Linked DNA regions of Homo sapiens: all the other regions are linked to region 6. The links are contacts of gene promoters, found by promoter capture Hi-C in blood cells and fetal thymus (Javierre and others, 2016). All regions are on one chromosome and are shown on one strand. Each heading gives the region's core, a stretch centred on a gene start or on the middle of the fragment in contact. The rest is flanking DNA. Distances are from core to core; before and after follow the strand shown. Region 1 has its middle 7.8 kb from the start of NPC1. Region 2 overlaps ANKRD29 (ankyrin repeat domain 29). Region 3 overlaps NPC1 (NPC intracellular cholesterol transporter 1). Region 4 overlaps RIOK3 (RIO kinase 3). Region 5 overlaps RMC1 (regulator of MON1-CCZ1). Region 6 holds the start of CABYR (calcium binding tyrosine phosphorylation regulated).

The links. The method cuts DNA at HindIII sites, captures the fragments that hold promoters and counts their contacts. A CHiCAGO score of 5 or more calls a contact.
Region 1: a contact is called between a fragment that was not itself captured here and the fragment with the promoter of CABYR in region 6, in 1 of 17 cell types (non-activated CD4 T cells). The highest score is 6.8, in non-activated CD4 T cells.
Region 2: a contact is called between a fragment that was not itself captured here and the fragment with the promoter of CABYR in region 6, in 2 of 17 cell types (activated CD4 T cells and total CD4 T cells). The highest score is 6.2, in activated CD4 T cells.
Region 3: a fragment that was not itself captured here is called in contact with the fragment with the promoter of CABYR in region 6 in 1 of 17 cell types (total CD4 T cells); the score reaches 6.0 in total CD4 T cells.
Region 4: a fragment that was not itself captured here is called in contact with the fragment with the promoter of CABYR in region 6 in 3 of 17 cell types (total CD4 T cells, naive CD4 T cells and non-activated CD4 T cells); the score reaches 9.4 in total CD4 T cells.
Region 5: a contact is called between a fragment that was not itself captured here and the fragment with the promoter of CABYR in region 6, in 1 of 17 cell types (total CD8 T cells). The highest score is 5.1, in total CD8 T cells.

Annotation. Positions count from the first base shown.
Region 1 is chr18:23,592,957-23,595,656 of GRCh38, forward strand. No RefSeq gene overlaps it. Among named protein-coding and RNA genes, the nearest start is that of NPC1, 7.8 kb to the left of the region's middle. The HindIII fragment of the contact is 6,264 bases long and covers 1-2,700 here.
Region 2 is chr18:23,612,606-23,615,305 of GRCh38, forward strand. All of the region lies in intron 8 of ANKRD29 (ankyrin repeat domain 29), which reads right to left. Among named protein-coding and RNA genes, the nearest start is that of NPC1, 27 kb to the left of the region's middle. The HindIII fragment of the contact is 880 bases long and covers 938-1,817 here.
Region 3 is chr18:23,540,583-23,543,282 of GRCh38, forward strand. NPC1 (NPC intracellular cholesterol transporter 1) reads right to left here. Exons shown (of 25, transcript NM_000271.5): 15 at 724-851; 16 at 486-626. Among named protein-coding and RNA genes, the nearest start is that of RMC1, 38 kb to the left of the region's middle. RefSeq lists an enhancer at 1,696-1,745. The HindIII fragment of the contact is 2,377 bases long and covers 63-2,439 here.
Region 4 is chr18:23,472,062-23,474,761 of GRCh38, forward strand. It overlaps RIOK3 (RIO kinase 3), which reads left to right. Exons shown (of 13, transcript NM_003831.5): 8 at 1,368-1,565. Among named protein-coding and RNA genes, the nearest start is that of RIOK3, 20 kb to the left of the region's middle. The HindIII fragment of the contact is 639 bases long and covers 1,101-1,739 here.
Region 5 is chr18:23,521,262-23,523,961 of GRCh38, forward strand. All of the region lies in intron 10 of RMC1 (regulator of MON1-CCZ1), which reads left to right. It also overlaps a transcript of NPC1 not described here. Among named protein-coding and RNA genes, the nearest start is that of RMC1, 19 kb to the left of the region's middle. The HindIII fragment of the contact is 906 bases long and covers 975-1,880 here.
Region 6 is chr18:24,137,804-24,140,503 of GRCh38, forward strand. It overlaps CABYR (calcium binding tyrosine phosphorylation regulated), which reads left to right and starts at 1,259. Exons shown (of 6, transcript NM_153769.3): 1 at 1,259-1,315. RefSeq lists an enhancer at 844-903. The HindIII fragment of the contact is 10,284 bases long and covers 1-2,700 here.

The DNA.
Region 1 (2,700 bases), core at 4-2,503, 540 kb before region 6:
TGAACCCAGGAGGCCGAGGTTCCAGTGAGCTGAGATCATGCCACTGCACTCCTGCCTGGGTGACTGAGCAAGACTCTGTCTCAAAAAAAAAAAAAAAAAAGATGCTGTGGGAAGGAGGCCTCAGTTCCTCCTCTCCATAGGCTGCTGAGTGTCCTCAGGACTTGGCAGCTGGCTTCCTCCAGAAGGAGTGATCCAAAAGGGATTGAGAGCAAGGCAGAGCCATAATGTCTGTTATGAGTTAGCCTCAAATGTTATATGCCATCACTTCTGCCATGTAATACTGGGCACACAGACCAGTCCTGATGCAGTGTAGGAAGGGGACCAGACAAGGACAAGAGGAGGGGAGCACTGGGGCCATCTTGGAGGCTGGCAACCACAACATCCATGTAGCCAACACCCAGAGGAAGGATATGGAAACTTTAGCACTTCAGAAGCCTCCTTTATGCCCCTTTCCCAGTCGATATCATCACCCCTCCTTTAACCGGGAGGCAACCACTCTTCTGATTTCTCTCACTGTAAGTTGGTTTTGCCTGTCCTTGAACTTCATGTAAAGGGAATCATACTCCTCTGCGTCTGGTTTCTTTCACTGAACATTATGTGTGTGGCTCATCCACATTACTTGTGGTGGTAGCATCTTTTAAAAGAATTGCTGTGTAGTATTCCATGGCTCAAACATATCATGGCAGACATCTGGGTTGTTTCTTCTTCCAGTTTGGGCTGTTACAAATAAAGGTGCTGTGAGCACTGTTGTACAGGTCATGTGTTCAGTATACACACTCAATTACTTTGGGTTCTGTGATAGACTTTTTAAACTCTTTACTTACGCAAGCCAAATTTTATAGACATCTTCATTTAAAATAGCTTACAGCTACAACTCATGACTTTAGTACCAATGGTTATGACCTACTCGGAAATGGGCATTGTTGCTCAGAATTCTGGTAAAATGTTACTCATCCTAGTAAGGAAGGATGTTTGAGTTGGTGATTAATCCAGTCATGGGTTGTGGTGTAACTTCCACTCAGTTAGGATGCTACCAGAGTTGGAATGACTTGTGGTTTAGCAGTCAGGGTTTCAAACTGGCATTGCCTTCCCTGCAGGATTTGCTCACAGGACATAGTTTCCTTTGCCAGGGGTGGTTTTTGATCAAATGTTTCCTAAAATGGAGAGTCCAACTCCTGTAAACTGAAGACTTTCTAAGACTATTCTTAAAACTTGAAATGTAGGAATAACAACAGCATTTCACTCATTAAAGCTCGGAGGATTCAATCCTAGTGAGGGAGGGAAGAAGAACCAAAGATAGCGGAAGGAATTTTTTCTGTTGACAGAGATAAGGCTGACATGTCACCTAAGAACTGAAGATCTTTAATTAACTTCCTTTATGTTATTTTTATTTTACTTTATTTTATTTTTACTTTTTGAGATGGAGTCACACTCTGTCGCCCAGGCTGGAGTTCAGTGGTGCGATCTTGGCTCACTGCAACCTCCGCCTCCTGGGTTCAAGTGATTTTCCTGCCTCAGCCTCCTGAGTAGCTGGGATTATGGGCGCCCACCACCACACCTGGCTAATTTATTAAGTTTTAGTAGGGACAGGGTTTCGGCATGTTGGCCAGGCTGGTCTCGACCTCCTGGCCTCAAGTGATCTGCCCGCCTTGGCCTCCCAAAGTGCTGGGATTATAGATGTGAGCCACTGTGCCTAGCTGAATTCCTTTGTTGAAACATAACCTCATTCATATTAATAAATTAATTTTTTTTTTGAGAGAGAGGGAATTGCTCTATTACCCAGGCTGGAGTGCAGTAGTGAGATCACAGCTCGACCTCCCAAGGCTCAAGTGATCCTCCTACCTTAGCCTCCTGAGTAGCTGGGACTTCTGGCACACACCACCATGCCAGGCTAATTTTTTGTATTTTTTGTACAGACGGAGTCTCACTTTGTTGCCCAGGCTAGTCTCAAACTCTTGGGCTCAAGTGCTTTTCCCACCCCAGCCTCCCAAAGTGCTGGGATTAGAAGCATGAGCCACCATGCCTAGCCTCACTCATATTTTAAAATTACCTGAAAGTATTGCTAAAAATAAGGATTAGGTCACCAGGAAAAGAATCGAAGACTTTCCAGACCCAGTGATACATAGGTTATTTAACTGAGGGCTAAGTATAGTCAGAGGGCCCAGAGAAAACACCTCTGTGTGACTAGTTTACCCTCCATGTGTTCATTACATTAAGCAGAAGAATAATTATTTTCACATTTCTCGACTAGAATGTCTAATGCTAGTTTTGCCTGTCATTTTTTGTTTTTGTTTTTCTCCATGCTTTGAAGTACAAATACTAGGGTCTGAGCTGCTATGGCTCAATGGCATGAAATATCATAACATGGTGTGGCTTTGTTCACAGCCAGGCATGTTCTAAGCACTTTAGCATCTTTTCACAGTGAGATGAAGTTCACCAATTTGGCTGGGCAAGGTGGCTCATGCCTGTAATCCTAGCACTTTGAGAGGCCAAGGCAGGCAGATCGCTTGAGTCCAAGATTTGGAGGCCAGCCTGGGCAACATGGCGAAACTCCAGCTTTACCAAAATACGAAAGTTAGCCAGGCATGGTGGTGCGTGCCTGTAGTCCCAGCTACTTGGTAGGCTGAGGAAGGAGGATCGTTCGAACCCAGGATGCAGAGGTTGCAGTGAGTTGAGATCGTGCCATTACACTCCATCTTG
Region 2 (2,700 bases), core at 128-2,627, 530 kb before region 6:
TTAGCCAACGGGCTGACCTGTCAGACCAGCTACAGACACTCTGAGCACTCAGGTGGGCAGGACTGTGATTGTGGAGCTACAGGGCTTAAGAGGAAGGGTATGTGGGGTGAGGCAATGCCCCGGAGCTTTGAGTTGGAGCATTTTTGAGCACAGAAGGGCCTCATAGGTCAGTTGTTAATGTTTTATGACATTTACTGCAAATATTTATCAAAATAAGGAACCAGCTAAATGCAGCATGTAGCTGGACCACGGAGAGGAGGGGAGGAGACTATAACAAAACTAAGAACAGTGGGCAGTCATAAGACATGGTTCTAGAGGGTACATATGTCCATAAATAGTACCTAATGCAAACTTAGTTTCCTAATTAGTTGCTCATAATAAAAACCACTCTGATTTTGTAAAAGAGTAAAATATCATACCCAGAGAAAAATTCCCACAAAGTAGCATTTTTCTATGGTTGCTTTTAAGTATGTATGATAATTCACTACTCTTGTAACAATTTACTTGTCTAAATCTTAGCCAATCTATCAACTTCACCTACATGCAACACGGGTCAGAATTTTTTTTTTTTTTTTTTTTTTTTTGGAGACAGTGTCTCGCTCTGTCTCCCAGGCTGGAGTGCAATGGCGCAATCTCAGTTCACTGCAACCTCTGCCTCCAGGGCTCAAACGATTCTCGTGCCTCAGCCTCCTGAGTAGCTGGGACTACAGGTGTGTAACAGCCACTCTGCTAATTTTTGTATTTTTTGTAGAGACAGGGTTTCGCCATGTTGCCTGGGCTGGTCGCCAACTCCTGAGCTCAGGTGTTTTGCCCACCTCAGCCTCCCAAAGGGCTGGGATTACAGGTGTGAGCCACCATGCCTGACCAGGAGTTTTTAAAAAGCCAAAAAAGAGCTATTTGAAACAAGATTAGATTTTGCAAAGTTCAAGCTTTCTAAAGCTTGTTCCTTTTATTCATAGAATTCACTTTCATAGATGGTTTATTTTTACTTTACAATTTTTTTTTTTTTTTTGATACGGAGTCTTGCTTTGTCACCCAGGCTTGAGTGCAGTGGTGTGATCTCGGCTCACTGCAAGCTCTGCCTCCCGGGTTCACGCCATTCTCCTGCCTCAGTCTTCCAAGTAGCTGGCACTACAGGCGCCCGCCACACACCCGGCTAATTTTTTGTATTTTTAGTAGAGACAGGGTTTCACCGTGTTAGCCAGGATGGTCTTGATTTCCTGACCTCGTGATCCTCCTGCCTTGGCCTTCCAAAGTGCTGGGATTACAGGCATGAGCCCCCACGCCCAGCTAATTTTTGTATTTTTGTAGAGACAGGGTTTCATCATGTTGGCCAGGCTGGTCTTGAACTCCTGACCTCAGGTGATCCACCCGCCTTTGCCTCCCAAAGTGCTGGGATTACAAGCGTGAGCCAGTGTGCCCGGCCTTTACAAACAATTTTAACAAGTGCAGCTTTTTGGCCTCTTTTTTTTCTTTTTTCTGGAGATGGAGTTTTGCTCTTGTCACCTGGGCTGGAGTGCAGTGGCGTGATCTCGGCTCATTGCAACCTCTGCCTCCCAGGTTCTCCTGCCTCAAACTCCTGAGTAGCTGGGATTACAGGTGTACACCACCACTCTTGGCTTATTTTTGTATTTTTAGTAGAGACGGGGTTTCACCACATTGGCCAAGCTGGTCTTGAACTCCTAATCTCAGGTGATTCGCCCACCTTGGCCTCCCAAAGAGCTAGGATTACAGGTGTGAGCCACCACACCAGACCAGGAGTTTTTAAAAAGCCAAAAAAGAGCTGTTTGAAACAAGACTATATTTTGCAAAGTCCAAGCTTTCTAAAGCTTATTCCTTTTGTTCATAGAATTCATTTTCATAGATGGTTTATTCTTACTTTACAAACAATTTTAACAAGTGCAGCTTTCTGGCTTCTAAAGCTCATGGCAGGCCAGACACAGTGGCTCACACCTGTAATCCCAGCGCTTTAGGAGGCTGAGGCAGGAGGATGAGAGAATCACTTGAGCCCAGGAGTTCAAAGGTCAAGACCAGCCTGGGCAACATAGCGAGACCCTGTCTCCAAAAAAAAAAAAAAAAAGCTCATGGCAGATGAAAGTAGCTCATGAGCTCATTAGGGCAGGGGAGAGAGGCCAACACATTGACAACAGCAGTTCTGTATTAACTGTCAGCAAGAATGGAATCTAAAAATATAAAGAGCAGACACAAAATATCCAAAAAGTGTCTGGGGTCATTCAAGGGCAAGTAGGTTTTATATACATTGATAGACTCTGAGAGGACAGTCCTAAAGCTAAGCCGCTGTGTCCATTTAGAACAGATTTGGTGTCCTGTATGTAATAAAACAGGAGCATTATATCTCAGGGGTCAGCAAACCACAGCCTGCAAATCAAATCCTGCAAGCTAAGAACGGCTTCTACTTTTAAAAATTTTTGCAGAGGCAGGGTTTCACTCCGTTGCCCTGGCAGAAGTGCAAAGATACAATCACAGCTCACAGTAACCTTGAACTCCTGGGCTCAAGCAATCCTCCTGCCTCAGCTGGGACTACAGCCACACACCATGGCATCCATCTAATTTTTAAACTTTTGTAGAGATAGGGTCTTACTATATTCTCCAGGCTGGTCTCTAACTCCTGGCCTCAAGCAGTCTTCCTGCCTCAGCCTCCCAAAGTGCTGGATTATAGGGATAAATCACTGCACTCAG
Region 3 (2,700 bases), core at 1-2,500, 600 kb before region 6:
AGCTTACGACCAGAAATAAAATCTTAAGCACACACAAAAAGCAGGATTTTTTAAAATGGAAAAGCTTAAATGACAGGCTAATAGGGAGTACAGGGCAGTGGGTGAGACCACAGCACCAGGAGTCCAAATTCCTGGGTGCAAATCCTGACTCTGCCACTTACGGGCTGAGTGACTTGGGGCAAACCACTTCACCTCTCTTGGCTTCTATTTCCTCATTATTAAGAGGAAAAATAAAAGTTTCTTTGCAACTTTCTGTGAATCTGAAACTATTTCAAAATAAAAAACTTAAAACTCTTGTTTATATGGACTGATAAAAGCTCACAGGAAAAACATTTTATCTACTGTTCCACATTTGCTTTTGCTTTTTTTTTAGATACATTTTAACAGCTTTAAGAATCTCCTTCCCAGGCTGTCTGGCTTCTTAGAAGGCATGTGATAATCTGTTTCAGTGAGAGGAAAGAGAAAAACCACAGATAAGCGCATACCACAATTGGTCTCATCCAGTCCTTTAGCAGAAGTGGAGAATAGGAGTTTTTGAAGAAGCGAAACAAACAGCTCTCTGAGGCCTGGACGCTTGTTCCATCTTCAGCACCTCTGACACAGCAAAAGATGTCTAGCCGATTTTTCTGAGGGGACAGAGGGAAACAAAGGTTATACCCGCTAGCTGCTTCCTCTAGATTCTAGACTCAAATTAAATAGACTATAATCCTGGCACCAACTTACCTCTTGACGTTTAATGTCTAACCCCAAGAGACTCACGAAACAGGTAATCTGCAGAAGAAAGTCAATGAAGACTGCCAATCCCGCAAAGAGAGAGAAGGTGTGCACGGCTGGCATCACGGACAATGCTCCTGTCGGGGAGAGAAGGGCTCTGCGTCACTTCTGTTTACAGCCGGGGGCTCTCTGCAGGTCTTATGTTCATGTGCATGTACAGATACAAGGAGCCAGCACAGGCCAAACGCATGAGAAGGCATGCTGCGGCTGGACATTACACCAGAAGTGGGACAGGAGGTGATAAGCCAGTGCTTTTCAAAGCACACTCAGCACCAGACCATTTGGGAAGCCCCATCCTAGTTATGACAGGAATTCAACCCCAATTCTACTATACTCAGGTTCACAGCAAATTCACACACATTAAAATTTGAGAACCACTAATACAGGCCATTTCTTATAGTACTTTCTGTGCTTCACTGTAAGAAATGGACAGTATTTTCCATTTATTACATCAACACTACTAGCCTCCCAGTTTAGTTAAGAGGTAATCTACAATCGAGTGAGGATCAAAGGCATGAGGGTAAGACTTGGAAACTGCAAACTGGCAGCCCATGAATCAGATGGTTCCTGTTTAGCCCACACTGTATCAACCCATCTTAAGATTAAAAAACTTTTTTTTATAAGTTGCCAATATTTAACAATGGCATTTTACACAAAAATCTAGATTCACAGCTTTGCTTGGAAGAAAAACAACAACAACAACACAGACCTTGTAGCACTGGGTTGGCCACACACATAACTGTCTTTTTAGATAGGACACGTGCAGTTGGGGTGCCACAATCCCTACTCACTCCTACTGTCCCAAGGTCACTCCAACCTTGAGGCACAGTCTCTGCTGCTATTATCATCACACTTGCACTGGTTTTCTTATAATAGTAGTGAAAAAAAGAAAGTTTTTTCTTTTTTTTTTTTTTTTCTGCACCTGTGTTTGTCAAAAGGAACTACAGGGCTACAGGTTTCAAAAGCACATGGCTTTGTGGAGATGAAGAATAACAAGCTAGCAGTGTATCTGTGGTGAAAGACTACCACCTACAATGACCTTACAATGGCCCTGATTAAGCTGACCTCCCAGCCATGTAGGCATTGCAGTTTGTGGCCCGTGGATGGTCTTCTTTGGACTGAGTGATTCCAGTCCAGCCTCCCCTATAGTGGACAGAGTCACTTTGCTCTTACTACACTTCAGACATGGGGCAGACAGCCCCACTAGTGGGTCTATTTGATGATTCTCTATGTGAAAGAAACACAGAAGTGCTGACTTTGTTCCAGCTTATTCTGGCTCCTTGTAATGTGGTGAGTCAAGAGCTTCTGGTCATTAACAAGGCTGCTTCCCCAATGAGTTGTGTGCACAGAAGAGAAAGACTGCCTTTGAAAACAACGGCAAACATCTTGTAAGCGAGTGCCTGTGGATTTGGGAGCTGCTGCTTAGAGTGTCATGTGGAGAAGGATTCAGTGGCTACTCAAGGATGCCATTTTCAACTATCAACATTCCCAGTGGCTACTAAAAGGGGAAAGTGGCAAGACGAACTCTAGGTCTCTTTCACCCTGAACCCCAACATCAATGCTGTCCTGACAGTTAAATGAGAAGGAAGCCACTTGCAAAATCACACCTAAGTTACTGCTGCCAATTTTTCTGTGGTCCAGTGATACTTTCCCAGTGCAGAACAAAGCTTAAAAAAAGGAGACAACACGGGCTGGGCACGGGGGCTCACGCCTGTAATCTCAGCACTTTGGGAGGCCGAGGCAGGTACATCACCTGAGGTCAGGAGTTCGAGACCAGCCTGGCCAACATGGTGAAACCCCATCTCTATTAAAAATGCAAAAAATTAACTGGGCATGGTGGTACGTGCCTTTAATCCCAGCTATTTGGGAGGCTGAGGCAGGAAAATCGCTTGAACCCGGGAGGCGGAGGCTGCAGTGAGCCGAGAT
Region 4 (2,700 bases), core at 170-2,669, 670 kb before region 6:
GTCTCTACTAAAAATACAAAAATTAGCCGGGCGTGGTGGCATGCACGTGTAATCCCAGCTACTCAAGAGGCTGAGGCAGGAGAATAGCTTGAACCCGGGAGGTGGAGGTTGCAGTGAGCCAGGATTGCACCACTGTACTCCAGCCTGGGTGACAAAGTGAGACTCTGTCTCAAAAAAAAAAAGAAATGTGGGAGTTGTCTATATAGAGATGATATTTAGAGCCATGGGGCTAAGTGAAATTGCCCAGGAAGAGAAGGAAGGTTTCTTAGAACCAGGTGAAGGACTTTAACCTTTTGAGACTAAATGGAAGAGGAGTCAGCTGGGAGAATATGGTACAGAAGGAGGTTTGATTCAGATTCTGTCCTTTGGAAATATAGTTCCTTTCTTTCCCAGATTAACATCCTATCAGATATTTAAAGGTAAATATTAATATTGTTTCTCATTCCATCCACTTTTTCATTCCCACTGCCACCATCATGACTGAAGCTCACTATTGGGGGACTATTGCAGTAGCATCCTGAGTCGACCCCACACCTCTAGCCTGTCCCTGTGCCCTTCCATTCTGACAGTATCGTTCACTCGATCTTCATGAAGCACGCATTTGAGAGTGCCATACACAGAAACCCTCGCGATTCCCCACCACCTCTAGGAATTTGTCCAGGCTCTTCACAGATGTGCCTCTGTCCTGTCCTTTAGCTCCAATTTTTTTTCATTATCTCTCTCCAGCCAAGTCTTAACTATAGTGTTTGTTGTTCCTCAGACATGTCCTGTGGTTTCCTGCCTCTGCTTTTGTTCATGCTGTTCAAATCCTACCCATTGTCCTGTTTCTGTTTCAGATGGCACTTGTGCCATGAAGTCTTGCCTGACCTTTCCAATGAAGAGGGACCTTTCCTATTCATGTACTTCTTTTATTCTCCGTTGCCACTTCTTGCAGACTTGTGGGGCAGGAACCATTTGATTCACCTTTATGTCTGCTAGGAGTGAAAGAGTTATTTTTTAAAAAGCTGTTTTATTTGTTGCTTTTTATTGAATTTTGCTCCTGAACCATATTGGGAAGACTGTAGCCTATTTTCAAGTGCATATGTCTTCATTGTATTTCAAGCTTGATTCCGTAGTCATTAAGTGAAGAACATTATGTGATAGATGGTTGAAAATCGGTTGACAATTTATTTGAAAGTATATTTTATTTAAAAAATCAAACCAAAACCTAAGGCTTTATTAAGATCCAAAACCTAAAGGCTTAAAAAAACAAGACTTGACACTGAGAGAAGGTAGATCTAATTTAGTGTTACAGAATCTTTATTTTGAAATTGTTGTACTTGTGAGCTGGCAACTTGTACTGACTTGATTTTTTTTCTTCCACTTAGCATGGAGGATGAAAAGGAAGATAGTAAAGTTATACCTACAGAATGTGCCATCAAGGTATTTAAAACAACCCTTAATGAATTTAAGAATCGTGACAAATATATTAAAGATGATTTCAGGTTTAAAGATCGCTTCAGTAAACTAAATCCACGTAAGATCATCCGCATGTGGGCAGAAAAAGAAATGCACAATCTCGCAAGGTAAAGAAAATATTGTGCTAGACGTAATCTTGGGTAAATACCTTTTTGCATTAGGATAAAAAAATCCATGCTTTCTTTTACATTCATTTATAGAAATAATGAAAGGCCAGGTGTATAACCTCGATTCATACTTTTAGGATGAAAAAGCCATTTTCTTTTTTCTTTCCTCAATGAAGCTTGAGGGAAATCTGGGCATTTTCTGCCTTAGACACTTTATCATATATCTAAATGCCATTTTTAAATTGCTTTTATCACGAAGTAAAACTTCCAGCATCCAATTAGGCTTAGCATAAAAAAATGGTTTCTTTTTTGTTTCAGAAAATGTTTGTTGCATTTAATTTGTTAATTTTGTGGGAGTAAGTTCTTACCAATCAAATTACATTTTGTTTTAATTTTTATACTTGTATCTGAATTTTCTAAGCAATTTATTTTCTATCAAAGAATTTGTTTTGTCAACCAAGAAATTCAGTAATAATCCTTCTCATTAAAAACCTTTCTATTATCTTAATTTATTAAAAGCTTAATTTTAGTTTGTTATTTTCTAAAGATATTTGCTTTCAAAAGTAATTATTCATATATATCAGTTACAAAATTCTTCTACTGAGAGTTCCCCACCAAAATAAGCCAGGCATGGTGTGCACGTGTACTCCCAGCTACTTGGGAGGCTGAGATGGGAGGACTGCTTGAACCTAGGAGTTCAAAACCAGCCTGGAAACGTTAGACTCCCAAGACCTTGTCTCAAAAAGAAAAAAAAATGTTTTTTCAATAAATTAATTAATTCCAGGTAGAATCATTTTCTAGAAGGTCTTGCTGTCCTCCAGTCTCTTTTCTGTACTCCTGAAATTCCTGCCTTTCTTAAAATTCTTCAACAGTTTTCCATAGTGGAGCTTGCCTGTCTTTGTAGCCTCAGCCCACATTGCCCTTCCTCCTACTCACAGATCCAGCTATGTTGATTGATATACATTCCCCAAATGGACTGTGCTCTTGAACACCTCCCTGCATTCCCTTGCACTGTCTTTATCTGGCTAATTCCTGTTCCCTACCTCTTCTTCTAATAAGCCATCCTTGGTGCTGTGTGCTCCTGTAGCTCCTACCCATACCTCTGCCAGTGCGTAATTGTAATTGTCTCTTGTCT
Region 5 (2,700 bases), core at 178-2,677, 620 kb before region 6:
AATAATTTATCTTCCCTGAGCTTTAGAATGGATAGTTTTGATTAGCCGTTGATGGTGAAATATGTTTTAATATTGAATACACCCGTAACGTTTTCTGTTTGCCTTAGCTCTGTAACGCTGAAATTAACTTTGGCTGTAGGTTTGTTACTGTAACCTGGGATCACTTTTCTCTTTCTCACATTCCGTGTGACAGTGATGATGAATATTGCATTCTTTGGGACTGACAGTCACAGTAAGTGCTTCGGCTGTGGCTCTTAGGCTTACCCAAATCAGTCCTCCTTCTGTCTGGAGAGGTGGGGTTGGGAAGTCAGAAGAGTGGAGGTCAGGAATTCAGGAAAAGGGAAAGAAGTCATTTATTTGCTTCGTTTTGCCTTTTTCCAGTGTAATTGATTTTAAGATAGAACTGAAAGAATATTCAACACACACTCTCTCTCTTTTTTTTTTTTCCTTAAACAGAACTTTATTTTCTCACAGTTCTGGAGGCTAGAAGTTCAAGATCAAGATGTCTGCAGGTTTGCTTTCTTCTGAGGCCTCCCTCCTGGCAGGCCTCTTTGCAGATGGCCACCTTCTCACTGTGTTCTCACAGGGTCTTTCTTCTGTGCCTGTCCCTCGCAGCAGTCTCTCCCGGCTCTCTTTTGAAGGAGATTGGAGTGCAGAATTGGCTAGTCTGAGGTTTCAGTGTGCAAGACGTAGTCAGATGGCTCACATTTGGAACCCTAGTAGTAATGTTTTATTCTTTGTCCGATGGCATTGGGCGGGTTGACCCAGCCTGCAGTCAGGATTTCCTTGTACCGTTCACCCGGGAGTTCAGAATCGCACTCTGGCTGAAAGTTCAGCAAGAGCACCATTGTCAGCCTGACTGCCCTGTCTTGCTGGACCAGCCAAAAGCTTAGTTACTTTCTGGCACAGTTGGAGGAAGGAGCTGGTTCTTAACAGACGTTCAATTAGGTCTTTTGGCTTTCTGTGTTCTTTCAAGCTTCTTCCTTTTCCTTTGTAAATAATGTTAGTATTGAAAGAATAGATTTTGCCAAGTGATTGTCTTGTGTCTGCTGCCCACTTGGCATGAAGGTAACTGCTGGTGAATTGGGGGAAAAAAACTAAACATTTAGAACAAGCCTGTCCAACCCACGGTCTGTGGGCCACATGTGGCCCAGGACAGCTTTGAATGCAGCCCAACACAAATTCTTAAACTTTCTTAAAACATTATGAGATTTTTTTAATGATATTTTTTAAGCTCATCAGCTATTGTTAGTGTTAGTGTATTTTATGTGTGGCCCAAGACCATTCTTCTTCTTCCTCTTAAGGCCCAGGGAAGCCAAAACATTGGACACCCCTGGCTTAGAACCTTCAGCTCTGTTCCGGTGGTACAGGACCAGTTAGGAGGCATCAGGTTCTAACCATCTGGTCATAAGGGAACAGATGCGAGGCCTGGTCACAGTAACAGCCCGTGCAGAGATCAATAGGAGGAAATCAGGAATCCACTGAGGGTCTGGGGATCTAGGTAGTGTGGGCTGCAAAGCATTTTCAGAGGTTAGTGACTCTCCTTTTGTTTCCTGCTGGGCTGTGAGCCCTGGCGGCTTGATGCATCCGTGTGTCTTGCCCACTGTGCTGCCACTGGGTGGGCGTGCTCAGGAATTGAATGGGCCTGTTGAGAAAGATATAACCAGCACTTTTGGGAAGAGTCAGCCACCCTTTTTCTTTTTGTTTTGGGCCTGTTAGAACAGTGGGTCTCAATCTGACTACATATTAGGATCATCTGGGGGGCCTTAAAAATGAAAGCTCTCACCTGACAGTGTGTAGGTCAGCCACCCAAAGGTGAGGGCTGTGCACTCGGCGCAGACCTTGACACTTAGGTCCAAAGCGCGAGTGCTCTTCGCCAAAGCTTGTCTGCCTGGGCTCTTTCCTACCTTTGGGTGGTCTGTTCACAATGACCCTTTCTCTGACCAGCTGATTGAAACCTGCCTTCTGATTGTACCTGGGTAATTGGAACAGAACCAGGAGTCATGGTTAGCTTGTAGGGCTGCCTGCATGGCTCATGAGCAGTATAACTGGTTGTTAACGGTCCCTGTCATGTGAGGTTTTGGGGGTCTGCTTCCCAGACGAGCTCACTGTGCTTGGACCTACTCTATGCAATGGATAATCGAACTAATTATTTAGATAATTAAGTGGCTGGGCACAGTGGCTCATGCCTGTAATCGCAGCATGTTGGGAGGCTGAGGTGGGCAGATCACTTAAGCCCAGGAGTTGGAGACCAGCCTAGGTAACATAGACCTTGTCTTCACAAAAAAAAAAAAAAAAAAAAAAAAAAGAAAAAAAGTTAGGGCATGGTCACATGCCTGTAGTCCTAGCTACTCTGAAGGCTGAGGCAGGAGGACCACTTGAGCCAAGGAGTTCGTGGTTATAGTGGGCTATGATCAACTACTGCACTCAAGCCTGGACAGCAGAGCAACACCCTCTCTTAAAGAAAAAAAAAGATAATTAAGCTACAAGCCACATTTATTTGAAACATTCTCCGTGGATGATCTGGGTATTTGATTTTGAATCCTTCAAGTAAATTTCTCAGTTCCTTAACGTGCATATGTAAACGATCATGAGTCATCTTTGGTTATTAAAAATAACCCAAACCACAGTGATTGAAGCCTTGACATGCTTTCTTTTTCTTGGTGAGATTTTCCTGGATTGTTAGCTCCTTCCCCCTTC
Region 6 (2,700 bases), core at 9-2,508:
CCTTAACATTGCTTTTATTGCAAAGTGCTCTGGAAGCCCTAATTTTTTCTGAATTAAAAAATAGGGTTTTGTTTTATTTTGGTTTGGTTTTTGTTTTGTTTTGTTTTGTTTTTGGTCAGATATCTGCCCTGGCGATGCTCTTTGGTTTAAAGTAGTTGCTTTTTAAACATTTGAAGATGGATCAAAATTAAGGCTGCTTGTACTCTGATAATCATGATTATGGTGTTATTTAGAGCCCAGCCCAAATACCTGAGCCTAAATGAGTGAAAGAGCAGAGAGTGGGCGTTTTTTTGTTTTTTTTGTTTTGTTTTTTGTTTTTTTGAGACGGAGTCTCGCTCAGTAGCCCAGGCTGGAGTGCAGTGGTGTGATCTGGGCTCACTGCAACCTCCGCCTCCCAGGTTCAAGCAATTCTCTGCCTCAACCTCCAGAGTAGCTGGGATTACAGGCACCCACCACCACGACCGGCTAATATTTTGTATTTTTAGTAGAGACAGGGTTTCACCATCTTGGCCAGGCTGGTCTTGAACTCCTGACCTCGTGATCCACCCGCCTCGGCCTCCGAAAGTGCTGGGATTACAGGCGTGAGCCACCGTGCCCGGCAGAGTGGGCGTTTTTAAATGAAGCAGTATTCCTTTAGTTTGGTAAAATTGAGCTGAAGTTACACACAGTAACACCTTGACTTGTTGCTGACGGTGTGCTTTGTGGGGATAGTTGGTGTCTGATCTCAACTGTGGAGAAACAGGAAGTTTCTGGATTCATGCTGAACTCCCATTCCACAGGCGAGTTTCACAAAAGAAAAAGTGCTCTGTTGCATACAATTATTCACTGTGTGTCTACAACGTGGCAGAAATTATTATTCCTAAAGGTGACCGAAGAGAGCTATAGTTTATGGGGCCAGGAGCAATGTGTGGAATGGCGAGGCAGTGACAAGACAGCACTGCCATAAATCTCTTACTTTCTTTCCAAACGAGCTCTAATTTTAAGCTCAACGACCAAAGACGGAGAGGCAGTCGCTTTGAGCTACTCCTGGCTATTTGTTGGGAAATCACCTAAATCCGTTCAGATTTAGCCAGAAAAGGGGAAATAAGTCTCCCTCGCCGGCCAAATCATGGCCTTTGTCGCTTTCGGCTCCCCATTGGCTGCGGCCGCTGTGGCCCCGCCTCCTTGAGTGGTGCGGAGCTTTGTGATGCGGAGCTTCGTGATGCACGCCCCGATGCCTGCGGGGCTATAAAAACGCTCGCAAGCGCCAAGTCTCCTCAGGAGCCGCCGGCAAGGGGGCAACGAGGAAGCTCTTAAGAGCGCGGCCGGAAAGCAGGTGGGGAGAATCTGGAGAAAAGGCGCACCCTGCGGCCTCGGAGACCATTATGTCTCAGGGAGTCTCTCGCAGTGGGAGAGGTCGTCGGGGCAGGCGGAGGGTCCTCAGAGTCGGGGGTGGGGGGCCTGTGGGGCGGCCCCGGCCCACACCGGGGAGTGCGGCGACCAGACGGCCAGCTGCCGAATCTGAGGCCTCGGTGGGTCCGTCGCCCGCCTCTCTTGGACAAGTCCAGGCGATGTGAGCACGCCCAGCCTCCTACATTTCACTCCCGTCTCTCCCAAACAGACCTAGCGCAAAACGAGCACTGACACAGCGGGGGCCCACATCCCGGAGGTTCTTTAGGGAGAGGTCGGGGAGTGCGGTTACCTATGGCTCCGAAGTCCCCGCTGGCATCCTGAAAGGCATCGTATTTCTCGCTTAAGGCGTTACCCTTGTGGTAGTGGGCGCATGGACGTTTACAGTTGGGCGGGGCAGGATTTAAATTCCGCCAGTGGTGGACCAGTATTGGTGATAGGAGAGATCTGGGAAGAATTATTAAGCTGTCGCTTTTAAATAACCCTAATAGTGTTTGTGACAATTTTACCCGTTGACTTTTCTCAGCTTGCTTAGGACAGTTCTTTGTGGGGAACTGAACTGTAGGACGTTTAGCGTCCCTGGCCCCACACGTTCCCAAAGTCGGGGTGAGAACTAGTGGGACGGGGGATCATGGAGTGCATGGCCGCTGTCCCCACCTTTGGTAGCACCAACTGCTAACTGCCTCCTGAAAGGTTGTTGGCGCCATCATGGTTTCTGGGAGCCACTTTCTTTTTTATTCTTTTTTTTTTTTTTTGAGACGGACTCTAGCTGTGTCACCCAGGCTGGAGTGCAGTGGCGCGATCTCGGCTGTCAGCTCCGCCTCCCGGATTCACGCCATTCTCCTGCCTCAGCCTCCCGAGTAGCTGGGACTACAGGCACCCGCCACCACGCCCGGCTGATTTTTTGTTTTAGTAGAGACGGGGTTTCACCGTGTTAGCCAGGATGGTCTCCATCTCCTGACCTCGCCTCGTGATCCGCCCGACTCGGCCTCCCAAAGTGCTGGGATTACAGGCGTGAGCCACCGCGCCCGGCCTCTGGGAGCCACTTTCAAAACGGTCTATCTACTCACTTTGGGTACTTAAAGAAAATTAGACATATGATATATATGAGTATGTATCAAATATATATATGTATCAAATAGTATGTATGTATCAAACATGTCATGCTGCCTATGCCCCTTAGCATTTAGCATGTGGGACTGCGGAATCCCCACTTCTGATTTTTTAAAAAATTCTTTTTTTGTGAGTACACAGTAGGTGTATATATTTATGGGGCACATGAGATGTTTTGATTCAGACATACAATGTTAA